Linked DNA regions of Homo sapiens: region 1 is linked to region 2. The links are contacts of gene promoters, found by promoter capture Hi-C in blood cells and fetal thymus (Javierre and others, 2016). All regions are on one chromosome and are shown on one strand. Each heading gives the region's core, a stretch centred on a gene start or on the middle of the fragment in contact. The rest is flanking DNA. Distances are from core to core; before and after follow the strand shown.

The links. Contacts are between HindIII fragments. The CHiCAGO score rates a contact against its expected background, and 5 or more counts as called.
Region 1: a fragment that was not itself captured here is called in contact with the fragment with the promoter of SGK2 in region 2 in 1 of 17 cell types (M0 macrophages); the score reaches 7.8 in M0 macrophages.

What each region holds. Positions count from the first base shown.
Region 1 is chr20:41,695,714-41,700,725 of GRCh38, reverse strand. No RefSeq gene overlaps it. Among named protein-coding and RNA genes, the nearest start is that of CHD6, 80 kb to the right of the region's middle. RefSeq lists a silencer at 1,222-1,516. The HindIII fragment of the contact is 500 bases long and covers 2,672-3,171 here.
Region 2 is chr20:43,555,766-43,560,502 of GRCh38, reverse strand. It overlaps SGK2 (serum/glucocorticoid regulated kinase 2), which reads right to left and starts at 1,476. Exons shown (of 13, transcript NM_170693.3): 1 at 1,344-1,476. The HindIII fragment of the contact is 1,890 bases long and covers 327-2,216 here.

The DNA.
Region 1 (5,012 bases), core at 1,672-4,171, 1.9 Mb after region 2:
AAAAAAAGAAAAAATTGGGAGGCTGAGGCGGGCGGATCACGAGGTCAGGAGATCGAGACCATGGTGAAACCCCATCTCTACTAAAAAATACAAAAAATTAGCCAGGCATGGTGGCGGGCGCCTGTAGTCCCAGCTACCTGGGAGGCTGAGGCAGGAGAACGGCGTGAGCCCAGGAGGCGGAGCTTGCAGTGAGCCGATATCACACCACTGCACTCCAGCCTGGGCAACAGAGTGAGACTCCGTCTCAAAAAAAAAAAGAAAAAATAGTAATAATAATAAAGAGTTTCAAGGAGAAAACACAGGGTGAGAGAAGGTGCAGTGGGGGGCACAAAGTGGATTTGAATCTGTATATGACACAAAAGTTCCCTGGGACTTAACCAACATCGTGTACATGGCACATGGTAGGAGCTTAATAAATGATGGTTACCCAGATACATGAATAGCTCACTCAAGGTTGTAGCTCACCACTCATAGATTCATCAAAGAAATATTTGTAGGCCGGGCGGGGTGGCTCATGCCTGTAATCCCAGCACTTTGGGAGGCCAAGGCGGGTGGATCATGAGATCAGGAGATCAAGACCATCCTGGCCAACATGGTGAAACCCTGTCTCTACTAAAGATACAAAAATTATCCAGGCGTGGTGGCGTGTGCCTGTAGTCCCAGCTACTCAGGAGGCTGAGTCAGGAGAATCACTTGAATCCAGGAGGCAGAGGTTGCAGTGAGCCAAGATTGCACTCCAGCCTGGGCAACAGAGCAAAACTGTGTCTCAAAAAAAAAAAAAAAAGAAAGAAAAAGAAAAGAAAGATTTGTAGAAAGCCTACCACGTGCCAGGTTCTGTGCTAGGCACCGATGATGTCACCATGAATAAGGAAGTTGAAGTCCTTGCCCCCACAGTCCTTCTTCAGAGAAATCTCCTTTGCAGACATTTTACATGGATCCCTCTACCTCTGTCTTTCTACATTCACAGACTGAATATGAGCCCATATCTATCAGACTTGAAGCCCCCATGGGCTGGTCCAAGGGTAGTACGTCATCCAAATTTATTAACATTAGTGTCACTAAGATTGCTATGCAACGCCCCACTGTGAAATTTGACTTGTCTTTTAAAAAATTAAATTAAATTAAACTAAAAGTTAAAAATAATGCCCACTTGAGTTGCTTCTGAAATATTCTCTTGGTCTCTGAAACCAAGTAGACTTACCCATGTAAAATTATCCTTGATGCAACCTTGGATTTCTATTGGCCTTTGTATTAGTCATCTATTGTTGCTTAACAAATTATACCAAAACTTAACAGCTTAAAATAACAAGCATTTATTATCTCATAGAGCCAAGGTGTGACTTAGCTGAATGGCCTGGCTCATGGTCTCTCATGAGGTTTCTTGCCATTAAGGTGTTAGCCAGGGATTTAGTCTCTGAAGACTCGACTGAGGCTGGAGGATCTGCTCCCAAGGTGGTACTCTGACATGACTAATAAGGTGACACTGGCTGTTGACAGTAGGCTCAGTTCTCTACTACATGGGTCTCTCAAGACTCCTAATGACATGGCACCTGGCTTTCCCTAGCATGACAGAAAGAGAGAGACAAAACCAGAGACAGAGAGACCAAGAGAGAAGCTATGATGTATTTTAACCTGATCTGAGAAGTGACATACCATAATTTCTCCTGTATTCTGTTTTTGGTGGGGTGTTTTTGTTTTTGTTTGTTTGTTCGAGACAGGGTCTTGCTCTGTCACCCAGGCTGGAGTGCAATGGCATGAACACAGCTCACTGCAGCCTCAACCTCCTGGGCTTAAGCAATTATCCCGCCTCAGCCTCCGTAGTATCTGGGACTACAGACTCACACCACCATGCCTGGCTAGTTTTTGTATTTTTTGTAGAGACGAGGTCTCATTTTGTTGTCCAGGCTGGTCTCTAATTCCTGGGCTCAAGCAATCCTCCTGCCTCGGCCTCCCAAAGTGCTGGGATTATAGGCATAAGCCACTATGCCCGGCCCTGCTTCTCCTGCATTCTGCTGGTGACACAGACCATTACTGCTGCTACATGGGAGGGGACCAGATAGGGTTTGAAAACCAGGAGGCAGGATCATTGGTGGCCCTCTTAGAAACTGCTTACCACAGTCTCCAAGAAGAACCCCCTCTCCCCCAAACTCCACCTAAACTCTGGAACAGGGAGGTGTGCAGATTTCACTGTTTCAAACTACGGAGGCCCACAACAAACAGTGAATTTACTCTGTCCTGGAAACTCATGTTTTAAGCCCAGTAGAACTGCTTTTCCTCAATTATACTTGAGCGTCATGCCATAGGCCTGCATAAAAGGACATTATAAGAAACAGCTCCAATTAAGTCACCGCTGTATTGCATCACTGTTCAGTCAGCTGACCCACGGGAAAAATATCTCTTTGGTCTCAGGGTCAGGAAAAGTTGAGCTTCTCCCAAATATTTGTTTTTCTCACATAAAATCTAGAATTTTATTACCACTCACATTTCCCTCTTTACTTTGGCCATTTGGAAGCTCGGAGCCAAATGTGTAAGCCTTTGCTGGTGTTGATCTTTTTGAGCTAATGTCATCCTGGAGTTATTTCTTCCACTTGTTTTCTATTTTCTCCAGCTACCTCAACTTTTTGTCTTATCCTTTTGTATATTTTGTACTTTTGTAATTCCCCTCAAAGCTTTTGTGGATTGAGATGGAGTTTAAATACACAATAAAATTAGTTTTTGCCCAAAAGACTGATGACCTGCATGTGCCATCTAGTGGTGAGAGAGACAACTGCCAGAATAGAAACCTCCCTGATTTTTCAGATGTGTTTTAGATGGGAGAGTGGTGAGTAGTGGGCAAGGGAAGAGGAGGGAGACCGGGCCCCCTCTGTGTGCTTTGTCAGGAAATTGAAACTGCTGAGGATTAAAGAGCCTCTAGGCAGGGCCAAGGAGCAGGTGATTCAATGGCTGGAAATGAAGATGATTTATCAGAATCTGAAGAAACAATCAAAAAATAGTGAAGAATGAGGAAGGCACTGGAAGTGGAAGGGTTAAGAAAAAAAACTGTTAGTAAAAGTAAACAATGAAAATGGACCTAATTGAAGCAAGTAATCACTTGAAAGGTGCTTAATGTAGGTTGATCACAGATGTGACCAGCCATTTTTTAAACATTCACATTAACTGTAGAAAGAAGCTTAGAGTCCAATGTTTTTATTTTACTTGAGAGAAAACTGGGGCACAGAAGCATTGAGCATCTTGTTCAAGGTCATACAGCCTATGAGCCCCAGGTCCAGGGTAACTCCTAGATCAGTCCTCTTTCCCCAGCACCACCCTACTCCTAACTGTATATAGCAGATGCTCATTTGGGCTTTCATTTTGCACACAGGGTTTCACAAGAAAAATGAGGTCATTACATAAAAATGCTGGATCCAGCATATTTTCAATGAATTATTACTAGCTGGTTTTGTAGCTACCCCCCTGACCTACCCCCAAAATGTCAGGGTGGTGGTTCAAAGCACTGGCTTCGTTAATCTTCACCATGTGGCAAGTCATCAGTTCACAATGATAGAGAAGGATTCCAGAAGCCAATGGCAGTAGGTGAGGGAGCCCCAATCTGGGGAAGAGAAAGTAAATTCACTCATCTACCATGTTAACCTAGCATCTGCTCTGGGCCAAGTTCTAGGCAGTTTGCTGGGGTGGCAATATCAACAATGCACTGGCCATGTCTGGAGCTATACGTATCCCATCTCCCTGTACCCTGACCTGTGTTCTTGGACACAACTTCAGCTAAAACTGAGGCATAGCTTGGATCTGGAGGGCCCTTGAAGACCTAGCCCAGGGATCTGTAGTCTCAAGTTGAATGTCTTGGAAACAGCCTGAAGTCAGGAACCAATGAGGGGGCTGGAGATACTGTCTAAAAAGGAACTTGAGACATTCCCATACTGGAAAGCACAAATATGGAACATTTTACTCATCTGAAAGAGTTCTATTAAACAGCACTGGCCAAGAGTGCCCTTTCCTGGATTTTCTGCTCCTCTGAGTCCTACCAGTTCTCCTAAGCCCTTCAGCAGCTGATATCAGCAGAGACTGATATGAGTCACTGATTCCTGGAAAAGACAGAACTCTGGTACAATGGCTGTTCCAAGTTGATGTCCTCAGAGGTACAAATGACACACCAGAGACAGAAGTTGTTTCTTAAACTTTCCGGGCTTCTGTGCTAGTAACGGGTGCCAGATGGGGCAAAAAGAACAGAAGGAATATTGAGGGGCTCAACCTTTGAGATCAGAAAGACCCAATTTCCTACCGAGGTTCTCCATTACTAGTTGGGTAATCTTTAGGCAGAGCCTTTGGGCACCAGTTTTCTTAGCAGCAAAAACTGAGAACTATGATTGTCACAAAGATTAAATGAGACAGTGGATGAGACAGTATCTGGCTCATGGGTAAGTGTAGATTTTTTACTCATCTCTTCTTGCGTCCTTTTGGATGCTAATTTCCACTCTGCCAAGGATAAGAACCACATGTCACCTTCTCATCAGGTGACAAGTGGAGGCTAGTCATGGCTAGCTGTTCCACTCATTCTCTTAATGAATATTTGTTATGAAAACAGCAATGGCCAGGTGTGGTGGCTCACATCTGTAATCCCAGCACTTTGGGTCACCTGAGTTCAGGAGTTTGAGACCAGCCTGACCAACATGGTGAAACCCCATCTCTACTAAATACAAAAAATTAGCTGGGCGTGGTAGCGCATGCCTGTAATCCAGCTACTTGGGAGGCTGAGGCAGGAGAATCACTTGAACCCGGGAGGCGGAGGTTGCAGTGAGCCGACATTGCACTGGACTCCAGCCTGGGCGACAGAGCAAGAATCCGTCTCAAAAAAAAAAAAAAAGAAAAGAAAGAAAGAAAAGAGCAACTGCCAGGCCTTGTGTTCTGCATCATACAAAGATAGAAAACACATCCCCAAGAGGAGGAGCTCACTGTCTCTTGGGAAAGACTGGTAGGCAAACCAGTAGTTACACAGCAGGGGGACAAGAAGTGAA
Region 2 (4,737 bases), core at 227-2,726:
TTTTGAGATGGAGTCTCGCTCTGTCGCCCAGGCTGGAGTGCAGTGGCGCAATCTCTGCTCACTGCAACCTCCGCCTCCTGGGTTCAAGCAATTCTCCTGTCTCAGCCTCCCAAATAGCTGGGATTACGGGCATGTGTCACGACGCTCGGCTAATTTTTGTATTTTTAGTCGAGACGAGGTTCCACCATGTTGGCTAGGCTGGTCTCAAACTCCTGACCTCAGGTGATCCGCCTGCCTCGGCCTCCCAAAGTGTTAGGATTACGGGTGTGAGCCACTGTACCCGGCCGGTTATTTTAACTTTTATCTTTGTACTATTGTGTAAAGCTTCTCAAGATATTGCTGTTGAGTTAATATTCAAGTACTGAGTTCCTGGTGGGAACCTGGCATGCCCATGGCCCATCACACCCTCCCCCATCACCTTGACTGTGACCCCCATGCCTAAGCAGCCCTCAGTTCCTAAGGCTTTCTTCTCTCTCGCACCACGGTGTTCTAATTTTCTGGCCAGAAGCTGGACATCAATATATTCTCCTAACTCTTCAGACTCCGCAAACTCCCACTCAAGCCCCTCCATGAGTCCTCAAGCCTGTCCCTTTCCTAACTTGCCACAGCCCAGACTTGCCTCCCTCTGTCCCACTGTTACATGGACCTGCTTACAGCTCCCTGGCCCTGCCAAATGGGGTGTGGGGGTGGGACAGTGTCACACAGTTCTCTCTCCTTGGAACATTCCCCAACAAACCTGGTCTTTCCAGCTCACCTTTTCACCTGTTCTCATTGCCTTTCCTGGAAGCCAGATGACCCTCCGATCCCATGCACCCTCTCCTGCTGCTGTCCCTGTCTTCACTGTAACTTGTTCATTTACACGCCTGCCCAGTTCAAGTGCCAACTTGATCTTATTTTGTTCCCACAACCCCACGGGTTAGGAACTATCATCGTCCCTGTTTCAAGGAGGAGAAAACTGAGGCAAGGACAGGGAAGTGACATGATCAAGACAGTTAATAAATGACATAACCAGGATTTGAACCCAGGCCATCTGACTGCAAAGCCCACGGCCTGGAATTTCAGGAAGACAATAGAAAGCTAGAAAAGGAAAAAATGAAGTCAGTGGGAAGGAAGTGAGGATGTAAGTTGGTTAGTTAAGGAGGAAGAAAATTAGGCAGCTGAGAAAGCAGATAGTTGGGAGGGAAGGAAGGAAAGGAAGGAGGGAGAAGGGAAAGAAGTCGCCAAGGAAGAAAGGAAGGAAAGAAAGTAAACAGGTACTAGGAAAGATGTTAGCTAGGTAACTAGTCAATCTGGAGACCAATAGGCGAGCAGGCAGGTATCCTGCTCACAGGTGAGCCTCTCACCTGAAAACTCCAGGTTCCTGCTCAGGTCCTGGGGAGCAGCCCCATGCACGGCTCTGCCCTCTTCTCTCTCTTCATGGTCCTTCTGACTGGAGGCACAATCCTGACTTGTCAAGCAACCTTCCCAGTCAGGAATGACCTGTCACCCACTCGCTCCTGGCTCCCAAACCGGCTCAAGTTCAACCTCCCAGCCCTGCCTGCTGGAAGCTGGCTTCGGGGCCTTCCAGTTACTAATTAACCACTGGACCTGAATTACCAAGCTGGCTGCACACACTGGCTCCTGGATGGGCCCTGCCTGGGGGACTCTCTGAATTTTTTAAAGCACAACTTGTTATGTGACCATGGGCAACTGACTTCAGCTCCCTGAGCCTCATGTGAATTGGTGACGGATGGTGTGTCCTGCTGGAGGGACGGTTTCTGAAGTCCCTTTCAACACTGGAACTGCCGCACTCTCTCAAGGTCCAGCTTAAGTGCTGACTCCTACACAGCCTTCCCTGATTCCCTCCGCTGAGTCATCTTCCCTTTCGCTTGGAACCTAGTGAACCAGCAACTGAAAGGTTGGTCTCACACAACACCCTCCTCCACCCCTTCCCTAATGGGGGCCACCAGCCCCTATGTTCAGTCATTTCATGGAAACTTCCAGGACTGGGCAGCTCATTTCCCCCTGAGCCAGCCTCTGGCAATTTCTTGTGTTAAGCCGAAGACTGCCACCCACAGCCTACCCGACCAAGCACTGCCCTGGCACCGTTCTGGGAGAATCACAGCTGAGTTGAAACCTATGCCCCACTCTGCCCTTCAGAGATTTGAGGCTCAGGAACCAGAGATGAGTTCACCCTGGAGAACAGGGAAGGCTTTCTCGGGGGTTGACCCAAAGCTTCCCAGGCCCTGGGTTCTTTTTTTTTTTTCTTTGAGACAGAGTCTCGCTCTGTCACCCAGGCTGGAGTGCAGTGGCGTGATCTCAGCTCACTGCAAGCTCCGCCTCCCAGGTTCACGCCATTCTCCGGCCTCAACCTCCCGAGTAGCTGGGACTACAGGCGCCCACCACCACGCCCAGCTAATTTTTGTATTTTTAGTAGAGATGGGGTTTCACTGCATTAGCCAGGACGGTATCGATCTCCTGACCTTGTGATCTGCCCGCCTCGGCCTCCCAAAGTGCTGGGATTACAGGCGTGAGCCACCGCGCCTGGCCGGCCCTGGGTTCTAACTCAGGGCACAGGCAGGGCCTGGACCCCTGGACAGGTAAGGAAAGCTCTGCCCAGTGACCCCTCCTGAGCAGGCTGACTTTCACACTGCTTCCTCCATTGCCTTTCCATTAAAATGTCAACAACTTTCTGGTAATTCTGGTGCCTTAAACACCGGCTGCTCTGCTGTGCTCCGGAGGAGCCCTGCATGGCCACACACCCCACCTCCACCAACACACATAGCAGCATGTGTCTGGCCCTGGTCCAGATAGGGGAGGTAGCTGGCCCAAGTGCACAGAGCAAATCAGGGCAGCGCACAAGGTCCTGCCCTTTCCAGAGCTCCTGCTGCTGCTGCTGCTGTGCCACCAAGCTCCCTCTCCTCTGCTCTTCCAGAGCTGCTTAAAAAACCCCCAAACACGCCACATACTGGTATTGGTTGCATAAAGTGTATCAAATAATTCCAACTTACAGAAGAATGTCAAATAAAAAGTAAAAGCTTTCCCTCCAGCCCATCTTCAATCTCATTTCCAGAGGCAGCTGCTGTTAACTAAAGGGTGACAATCCGGCTGGGCGCCATGGCTAATGCCTGTAATCCCAGCACTTTGGGAGGCTGAGGTGGGTGGATCACGAGGTCAGGAGATCGAGACCATCCTGGCTAACATGGTGAAACCCCATCTCTACTAAAAATACAAAAAGTTAGCCAGGCGTGGTGGCGAGTGCCTGTAGTCCCAGCTACTCGGGAGGCTGAGGCAGGAGAATGGCATGAACCTGGGAGATGCAGCTTTCAGTGAGCCAAGATCATGCCACTGCACTCCAGCCTGGGCAGCAGAGCAAGACTCCATCTCAAAAAAAAAAAAAAAAGGGTGACAATCCTTCCAGATTTTTGTCTATGTCTTAATCTATATGTATATTAATCTTAATCTATATGTATTAATCTATATAACTGCATCCATTTTTTTTCCAGAAAATGGGCCATCAGTAATTCACTTTTTTTCATATATACATCTTTTAAGCAGCTGCACCACACTTCATAGTGTGGAGTTTTCACAACCCCTATTCCCTATTTACTGTTCCTTCTGATGGACATTTTGACTGTTAGCAGTTTCACAATATTTCCAACAAGGCTGCAGCAAACATCTCTGCTTTAATATCCTGTGGCCTTCCGCTAGTATTTCTGACAGATGAACTCCTGTTAAGTGTGAGTGCTGGGTTAATTATGAACTCTCTACCAAATGACTGTAACAAGTTGTGCCAACCAACGTGGCTAGCAGCAGTGCTGAACTTGCCCTTCCCCCCAGTGATACTGCAGGAAATAGCCAAGGTCACTCGTGCAGATATGTGTAGATAGGCCACTGCAGATATGCGTCTCCTTCCCATCTTCCTCTCTTCCTTCTTTCCCCTCCCACCCTCCCTGGCTGGACTTTGTTGTTTGGGTATGAAGGTAAAAGTCATGTTCTCAGGCATAAGGGAAAAGCAAGAGACTTAACCAATGGAAATCTACCTCCAGAAATATTCCCTTCACTTTGACATTCCTCAGCCCACTTTTCTGTCCTTAGTCTGGCTCCAGCCCTATTCCCACCCCCAGCCCCACCTGCAGATTCACCCATAGGCAAAGGGAATAACAGACACAGGGCCACCAGAGAAAAATCTATTACCCACATGGGCTAACAGACTCTTGGGCAACAGAGCTCATACATAGCCCAGATATGGGCCCCAGTTTGCCTTCTGGAAACATTTTTAGAAAGTGATAATTGTACAAAGTGTAAAATCAAATAATGAAAAAGATCAGTTCCTTGCCCCATTCCTCATCTTTTTAAGCTGCTTTCTTTGGTATTTACCTCCATGTATCTTAATAGCCTTATACTGTTATTCTTCCATTTTTCAGTTTAAAACATTTTCAAGTGGCTTCTTTCCTACTATGGAACATGAATGCTTAGATTATGCCCCTCCAAACACACATTTCAGCTTTTCCTGAATTTATAGTTGCTTCATTTGGTTTTAGAAATTGAACATATTCAATATATATAATTATTAGAGAATTATATATAATTATGTGTATATAACTCTCTGATAAAGCTAAAATATCCTCTTGATACATTAATATACCAGTTTCAGTTTGTTTTCTTCCCCCCATTTTTCTTAGAGCCGTTCATCCTCCTACTCTCACCTAGACAGCTGTCCAGAGGTGAACCTGGCCCTTCCTTTCCCATCACTCT